Linked DNA regions of Homo sapiens: region 1 is linked to region 2. Evidence: promoter capture Hi-C in 16 types of primary human blood cells and fetal thymus (Javierre and others, 2016). All regions are on one chromosome and are shown on one strand. The core of a region is centred on a gene start or on the middle of the fragment in contact, and the rest is flanking DNA. Distances in the headings are between cores, read along the strand shown. Region 1 overlaps MGAT5 (alpha-1,6-mannosylglycoprotein 6-beta-N-acetylglucosaminyltransferase). Region 2 holds the start of ZRANB3 (zinc finger RANBP2-type containing 3).

Region 1 (4,066 bases), core at 825-3,324, 1.3 Mb before region 2:
TTTCTTTTTTCTTTTTCTTTTTTTTTTTTTTTTGAGGGCTGGGACTGTTGTGGGATAATGTGGAAAACCACTGTTGCCAAAGTAGAAATCCCCTGCCCTTGAGGGAAATACACTGTTCTTGAAGTGAAAATGGTAGGGAAAAAAATAGCTGGGCTGTTCAGTGTGTCTGAGAAGGCTTTTAGTTACTGTATGGTGACGTGGCTGGTGTGATTAAAGAAAGGGCTTTCTGCTTTAAAAAGCTTGGAACCTAAAAATGGGCCTCTCTGTGGCTTGGGACTTTTCCAGCCATCCTGTGGTAGAGTCCAGCCTGCCCAGTATCCTCATCAAAGCCAGGCCAAGTTCACAAGCACGCCCAGGCCAGTCAAAAGGTCTGAGGAAGACCTCAGAAATGTTTTAGACAGGAGGAGTAAACTCAGAATAAGGGGCTCATTCTTCTACCCCTCAGTCATTAAGACCCTTTCTTTCATGCAGCACCACTACTTCAAGTCTGGATTGAGGAGGGATTGCACGCACATGTGTGAGGTTGGAGTCTCAATCTCAATGTGATTGTCATTGCCATGTTCAAACGATGAGGCTTAGAATGTCCCTTGTCTTACCTGATGGTCATAGCTCTCTATGACCCTCTGCTTCTTCCCAGCTGTGTCCTGGTGCTCTTTTGCTGTCAGAAGTGCTTGAGCAGACCTCTTGCTGCTGTGGACACCCTAAAAAGCTCCGCACCCCCTCAAGTCTACTAAGGCATGGTGGCTCTCTTCTAGGACAAGACTGTTGGGTGGTGGCTGAGCATTCGCCTGTCTTTGAGCGTCTGCATTTGCTCTCCCCCACCCCTTCCTCTCTTCCTTCTTTGTTTGTAAATAAAGTTGGTTAGAACACAGCCATGCGCATTCCATTCTGTTTCAGAGAAGTTAGCCTTCCCTCCTTCACAGGAGGGCCCAAACCCACTGTTACTCTCATTCTTTATAACACTCAAGCTACTTAGCATCAAGTATTTGTTGTATGAGCTGATCATGTGTCTCTCCCACTTACAATGTAAGTTCTGAAAGAGGAGGGACTTTGGTCTGTTTTGTTCCCCACTGTGCCCCAGAGCTTAGTACCTTTTGCCTGGCACATAGTAAGAGCCATGAATGAATAGCAGCAGCCCCTGGTGAAACTCTGTGATGCTCTGTGTGGTACAGTTACAGCTGGGACTCATTTGAAAATCACAGTAATGTTTTTAGTGAAGCAGGAAATGAGAAGAAATTCCCTATGGGCTCTGCATCTAAGAGGCTCCAAGTAGCTCTTATGCATGATCCTAACATGGGAACCATTGTTTATTCTGGAAGGTAGTTAGTGTTTCTGTTGGGCGGATGGAACACATTGTGTTCCTTACTGATGTGTGACCTTGAACAAGTCACCGATCATCTTAAAGCTTACTTCCTCTTTTGTAAAACAGACAATATAATATCATTTAACCTCATAGGCTTGTTGTAAGGATTACAAATGACAAAGTTTATTAAGGCACTTAGATTAATTTAGATTATTCTTGTTCTTTTTTTTTGGTGTTGTTTTTGTTTTATTTTGTTTTGTTTTGTTTTGGAGATAGAGTCTTGCTCTGTCACCAAGGCTGAAGTACAGTAGTGTGATCAGGCTCTAGCAACCTCCCCCTCCCAGACTCAAGCCTTATGCCCACCTCAGCCTCCAGAGTAGCTGGGACTATAGGCATGTGCCACCACACTAGGCTAATTTAAAACAAAAGTTTTTTTCTGAAGATGGAGTCTCACTGTATTGCCCAGGCTGGTCTCAAACTCCTGGCCTCAAGTGATCCTCCCATCTCAGCCTCCAGAGTAGCTGGGACTATAGGCATGTGCCACCACACTAGGCTAATTTAAAACAAAAGTTTTTTTTCTAAAGATGGAATCTCACTGTATTGCCCAGGCTGGTCTCAAACTCCTGGCCTCAAGCGATCCTCCCACCTCAGCCTTCCAAAGTGCTGGGATTACAGGTGTGAGCCACTGTGCCCAACCAGCGCTTAATTAAAATGCATTCATTCCTATTAGTAATCACTAACTCTGGCTTGAATGTACCTGCATCTGTTACCACCCAGGCATAACTGTTCATGTAGATCTGACGTTGTTCATTTGTTTGAACACAGGGCTTCAGCAACCTGTTTATGTAGCTATTCTTAGCATTTACAGGGGTAGAGCCTGACCAGACATGAGAGGAAATATGCTCTGTTTCAGAAGAGGTCAGGCTTGCCACCACCCTACTAAACTAGGAGATGTGGTTGTCATTGCCCTGTTCAAAAGATACAGTTTTCTTCTGTGGGCTGTAAGATAAGCTGGGTATGGCCAAGTTCACCTTTGGATCTAACCAGGGCATTGGTGGTGGTGGTGTTTCTGGCATGGTACAGCAAGCAGGAAGCAGTAGTGTGCGAGGCCACCCTTTCCAAGAAGGTGCGGGCCCTGGCATCAGGTGGGGGACAATGGATAACAATAGGCTTGACCTCTCAGCACTTCTCTGATTCCTTATCTTTTCTATAAAAAAGGCTAAAATTCTTGGTTCCTATTCCCTGCAGCTGGCTACATGTTAGGAAAATTCAAAGAATAGCTTAAGAACTCTATTCAGGTTCCATAAAGCACTTAATATCATCAACAGGCCTAGAAAGGATCTTTTACCAGATTTCGATGCATGGAAACTTCCTCAATAGTAATGACACCCTCTGCAACACCTTAGGAAAAACATTCGCTTCTGGGCACAAGTTCTGGTGAAAGCTTAAATCTGTAGTTCTAACCCAGAAGAGAAGGCTAGTCAGTGTTGCTGAGCATCTGAGCTGCTCTTTGACTTTGGTGATAATTGTTTTATGCCCTTTTCTGTCCAGAATCTGCTGACTGGGACAACTGCAGGGTGGAAGCCACCTTTTTGTCAGTTCAGGAGCAGGCAAATTATCTAACATGTGGCTTTAAAATTCAAATGAGATAAGGCAGTAAGGGTCACTAAGATGTTTCTGGTGGGTATTGCCTTACATGACTTTAGGGTACTGGTGGCACTATCTTTGATTCTTAAGAGTACAATTCATTGTACTATGTATATATATTTAAAATAACACTTAATGCCTTTGTGACTTTGAAAATAATGTGAATTTTTATGTAAAATTAAAGCATATGAGGAAGTATGGAGAAGAATAAAGAATAAATACACTCTTTACCTCTAAATGCAGATCTTACCAGATAAAATTGATTTCCCTTTAGTTCTTTAAAAAAAAAAAGTGATACGTACATGTGTGTATATGTGTATATATGTACATGAATATATGCTTTTTTAAAAATTAAGATACTGCATTTCCTTATGCCATTAGGTTTTTTTTTTTTTTTTTTTTTTGAGATGGAGTTTCACTCTTGTTGCCCAGGCTGAAGTGCAATGGCACGATCTCGGCTCGCCGCAATCTCCGCCTCCCAGGTTCAAGCGATTCTCCTGCCTCAGCCTCCTTAGTAGCTGGGATTACAGGCATGTGCCACCATGCCCAGTTAATTTTGTATTTTTAGTAGAGACGGGGTTTCTCCATGTTGGTCAGGCTGGTCTCAAACTCCCGACCTCAGGTGATCGGTCCCCCTCGGCCTCCCAAAGTGCTGGGATTACAGGCATGAGCCACCGCACCCGGCCAGCCATTAAGTATTTTTGATGACTGTATACTTTTCGTTTTTTATCCATCCACTTAACAAATATTTATTGAACTCCTGATATTAATAGCTAGTGGCTGTAAACAGAGATGACAAGCAGACTTGGTCTCTGCCCTCCCTAAGTTTACAGTCTAGTGATTTATTCTATCTTATGAATGGCTGACATAATGTAATTTAATCTTTTTATTTTGTGTTTGGGTAATTTCCAGTTCTTATCTGTAATAACGCTATTTTATAAATAACACTGCTTTGAATGTCCTTGTACATAATAAATGGACTGTATTTGGGTCATTACTGTAACTCTATTATCTTTCTGTGGAAAGATCACTCTAAAATTAATTTAAAAATATATAATTGATGAAACTTGACATTCCTGACAGTCAATGGAAATAAGAGGTTGAGGTTAATTCTTT
Region 2 (4,427 bases), core at 235-2,734:
CGAACTCCTGACCTCAAGTAATCCTCCCGCCTCGGCCTCCCAAAGTGCTAGGATTACAGGTCTGAGCCACCGCGCCTGTCTGCCACTCGTTTAATAAATGGTCGTTACTCAAAGAGTGGTGATGGGGCCACTCTTGATTATCAATCCTTCAAACAGAAAAGCCCTTTTCTGTGACTCTTTTCCTTCCAAGCTGACTTTAGAAGTGTGTTTGTGGCCGGGCGCGGTGGCTCACGCCTGTAATCCCAGCACTTTGGGAGGCCAAGGTGGGCGGATCACGAGGTCAGGAGATCGAGACCATCCTGGCCAACATGGTGAAACCCCGTCTCTACTAAAAATACAAAAAATTAGCTGGGCTGAGTGGCGCGCGCCTGTAATCCCAGCTACTCCGGAGGCTGAGACAGGAGAATGGCGTGAATCAGTGAGCCAAGATCCCACCACTGCACTCCAGCCTGGGGACAGAGCAAGACTCCGTCTCAAAAAAAAAAAAAAAAAGTGTGTCTGTAAATGTAGTTCAGAACTTCGGAGCCCTGTCTTTACAGTTCAAACTGACCACGCGAAGACTAAAGGCAGTAGAGGTACTTTCTACAAATTTAGCCGTGCAATCTAATAGCGAGCAGGCCGAGACGCCCGCGATTGAAGGCCGGGGTGGAGAAAGTAATAAGGGCCCTGGAAATTACCCCCATCCCATGTCACCCACTCTTTCTTAAAATGCCATTAAATTCCGTTCAACTTTTTATCTCCCATGCAAGAAACTAGCGACTTGCCAGCCACGCCACTTCCAGCCAGTCACACCTGGCGTATTCGCCGCAGAATCTCCAACTCCCGCCACAGGTTTGGGACGTGTCCGCCCCTAAGCGGAAGTGACGTTCAACGGGACAACGTGAAAGTAGATGAGTTTAAATACGTACTAATAATTTAAAACCCCTATGGTATTTTGAGGAAACTCTTCCGGCTACCCTTCTTCCATCACTTCTCTCCCGTTAGGGTTGCGAAAAGGGCTCTGTACAGCCTCGCGACAACTCGTTCTCCGCCCTAATTTCAAGTCATTCAAAACTCTGTCCCTTTTCATTGGCTGAAGCGGCGGCATGGGTACCTCTCAGGAACTACAATTCCAGCCAAGCACCGCGACAAGTGAACGGAGGAGAAGTTATGAGTAGGGGAAAAGCATGTTGGGAATCGTAGTCCGCTCCAGGCCGAAAAGAGCAATCACCCCGCCCTCCGCCACTGAAGCTGGAGAAACCAGGTGTTCGTTTCAGAACCCGTTAGCGCTAAGGGGAGGAGCCAACCCCTTAAGCAGCATGCCTCACTTCGCCCCACATGGAGGATAATTTTCCTTTACCCCTAAAAAGCACTATAAATACCCACTGAGGAGATCTGGTTGTCTTTTAAATACCTCGAGTCAGTAAAAACTCACGAAACTCCGCACCTCAGGCTCCAACTCGTGGGAAAAGGTAGCTCTTTTACAAGTGGGCAAAATGGCTGTCCTCCTAGTTTTACCATTGGTTGGCTTTTGCGTCCTTCAAGGGCGGTTACTTACCACGGATTGGTTCTTTTTCTCTTGAGGTTGGAGGAAGATTTGGCACGGCTCTCCGCGGCCTGGGAGGAGGTAAAGGGGTGGAGAGAAGACAGTTTTTTTCAAGCTTGATTGGGCAAAACTCATGTCACTCCGGGGACGTACAACCTATGAATAGTCGGCTGCCGCTCAAAGAGAACGAAGAGGCGGGGCTAGTGCGTGGTGGGAAGGGGCGGGATTCTGCCAGCCGCGGCTGCCGCTGGAGCCGGTGTCCGGGCTGGTGATGGGGTTAATTCCCTTTCGTAAGACTCTTACTTGCACCCACCCAGCCCCGCCGTCGCCCCGCCGCGCCGCGCTCCAACCGCCTCCTCCTCCTCAGTAACGCGGGTAAGAGATGCCCTTCCCTCCCCCGTCCAGCTCCCCGGGAATAACGCGCCTTGCTCCCCTCCCCCGCCCGCCAACCGGTAGCGCTAACGGAGAAGGAGGCAGGCAGGGGAGAGATGTGGTGTGTGGAAAGGTGGCCTTCCCCGCCGGGTCGTCGGCGCTTCAGCCAGGGCCTTCTGACGTCCCGCTGCTGCCAGCCCGCCGTTAGGTCGGGTTCCGAGTGAGCCAGGCTCGCCTGGCCCGCGGCTGCGGCTCCGGCTGCAGCTGCAGCCACTGCCTTGTGCCCACCGCCCCCACCCGGGGGCCATGTGAAAAGCAAACCCCTCGAGGCCTAGCGGAGGAGGCAGGGGAAAGGTTTCCGAGTCCCTGCCATGGCTGCTGCTGCTGCCTCCGCGGCTGCTCTTGCAGCCCCAGGGACTCGGGAGCCAGCCACAGCAGGCCTGCCAAGAGCGTGGTACTGCTCTCTCGTGTGGCTGGCGCCGGTGCCCCGGGCTCCCCCGGCCGCCCCACGGCCGCATCCCCTGGCCTTGCACCAAGAGAATTTTCAGCTTCGACCGGTTGGTAAAATGTAGGTACATTTTCCCTGTGGTACCAGAAAAAGCACAATGGGAATATTAAAAAGAAAGTTGAATGACTGTCAGTGCCACGGTCCCCCGGGATCAGATTTACACACGTTTTGATTCCTGAGCCTTAGGCTGCCAACAAATCTTTGTGGGCTTTGAAGTTTTTTGGTGTTTTGTTTTCTTTTGTTGCTGTGACTAGGTGCAAAGGGTGACTCTGTTGAGCTTGTTTTTATAAAGAAACTTAAATTATTGGGACTATCATGCTCCGTGTGTAATTGTCCTGGGATAGTTAAGTAAAAGGTGAAGAAGAGGTGCTTTCCAAATTAGGATTAGTGAACAGCAAATGGTTTTTCTAATAAAATTTTCTAAATATATATATATATATCTTCATGGTTATAGTTTACCTAATTGTAACTGTAAGAAACCTTTTTTAGCTTAAATATCATTGATGACAAAAACTTTTAAATGAAAAGATGATTAAAGTCAAACTGAAAGTCTACCCATTTATAATATGTGAAACAAGATCTTCTAAGTAATAGGATACCAGTCTGACAGGAATAATTGGACACGTCTCAATTTCTAAAAATTTGGCATATTTGGCTATTTTTAGGGCATTCTGTTATGATTTCTTCATCACATTTTGATGGAGTACGCTCGTCTTTTCAAATACCACTCTGCTTTTATGCCTGGAAGAATATGTCTTTAAATCATGGATTCTATAGTCTGTAGTAGACATAACTGTGATCAGAGATAAAATTCTAGGCCCATTTCTGAGGTTTACTTGTTAGCAGAATAAACTTGGGTTCTGAGGAAACATCTGAGTTTTGATCATTTCTTCAGGGTTTGAGAAGACTATGGTGGCTTAATGATCTTCTGTATTCCATAACTAGTACACCTAGTTACAGAATTGACATAGATACATTCAGGTCCTGGAGGAAATTTGTGGTATCTATTAAAAAAATGAAAATTGCCAGTCATGTAGTAGTCACCTGTAGTCCCTGCTACTCAGGAGTGTGAGGTGAGAGGATCACTTGAGCCCAGGAGTTCAAGGCCAGCCTAGGCAATATAGCAGAACATGGTCTCAAAAAAATAAAGAAATAAATACACAGCCTTGGAAGGCAAGTCCCCTGAGATCCCCACAGAGTTCCTGTAACATATATTGCCAGCTGCCAGCATAGTATTTTCCAGAACTTAAGAGTTAATTGATAAATTATACAATCGATACTTTCAGATCTTGGGTGATTTATATAGAGAAAGAGCTGTTGAAAATTTAGGAGTCTTCTACATTTTCTTCCTGGCTGTTGGATCCCTCCATGAACCTCAGTTCGGTTTCCTCATCTGTAAAATGAGGATGATAATGCTTAACTTAGGGAGTTATGAAAATTAGAGATAAATATATAATAGTGGCCGGGCGCGTTGGCGCACCTGTAATCCCAGCACTTTGGGAGGCTGGGCGGGCGGATCACCTGAGGTCGGGAGTTGGAGACCAGCCTGACCAACATGGAGAAACCCCGTCTCTACTGAAAATACAAAAAATTAGTCGCTCATGGTGGCGGGCACCTGTAATCTCAGCTACTCGGGAGGCTGAGACAGGAGAATCGCTTGAACCTGGGAGGCAGCGGTGAGCCGAGATCAGGCCATTGAACTCCAGTCTGGGCAACAAGAGCGAAACTCCATCTTAAAAAGAAAGAAAACAGAAAATTAGAGGTAAAGTATGTAAATCCCCTAGCATTGTGCCTGACACAGTTTGTGCAATAAATATTAACTGTTATTTTCATGCATATTTAGAGAATGGGTTTGTTGTTCATATGCTGAGGGTGTTGTTGCAGCCTTAGAACACATTCTGTTACTGAAGAGTACCATGGGTGTATTAATTTATATAGTGACTTAAGCACAGTTTGCGACTAGTTATTTTTGATTAGCTTATGGAAGTTTTTTTGACTTTGAATTAAAATGCAAGTGTCTGT

The links. The method cuts DNA at HindIII sites, captures the fragments that hold promoters and counts their contacts. A CHiCAGO score of 5 or more calls a contact.
Region 1: a fragment that was not itself captured here is called in contact with the fragment with the promoter of ZRANB3 in region 2 in 1 of 17 cell types (total B cells); the score reaches 9.6 in total B cells.

The regions. Positions count from the first base shown.
Region 1 is chr2:134,260,686-134,264,751 of GRCh38, forward strand. All of the region lies in intron 1 of MGAT5 (alpha-1,6-mannosylglycoprotein 6-beta-N-acetylglucosaminyltransferase), which reads left to right. Among named protein-coding and RNA genes, the nearest start is that of MGAT5, 8.6 kb to the left of the region's middle. RefSeq lists an enhancer at 1,026-1,075. The HindIII fragment of the contact is 1,342 bases long and covers 1,404-2,745 here.
Region 2 is chr2:135,529,734-135,534,160 of GRCh38, forward strand. ZRANB3 (zinc finger RANBP2-type containing 3) reads right to left here and starts at 1,485. Exons shown (of 21, transcript NM_032143.4): 1 at 1,394-1,485. R3HDM1 (R3H domain containing 1) reads left to right here and starts at 1,751. Exons shown (of 27, transcript NM_001378107.1): 1 at 1,751-1,900. RefSeq lists enhancers at 798-877, 1,228-1,497, 1,466-1,760 and a silencer at 1,728-1,917. The HindIII fragment of the contact is 14,144 bases long and covers 1-1,638 here.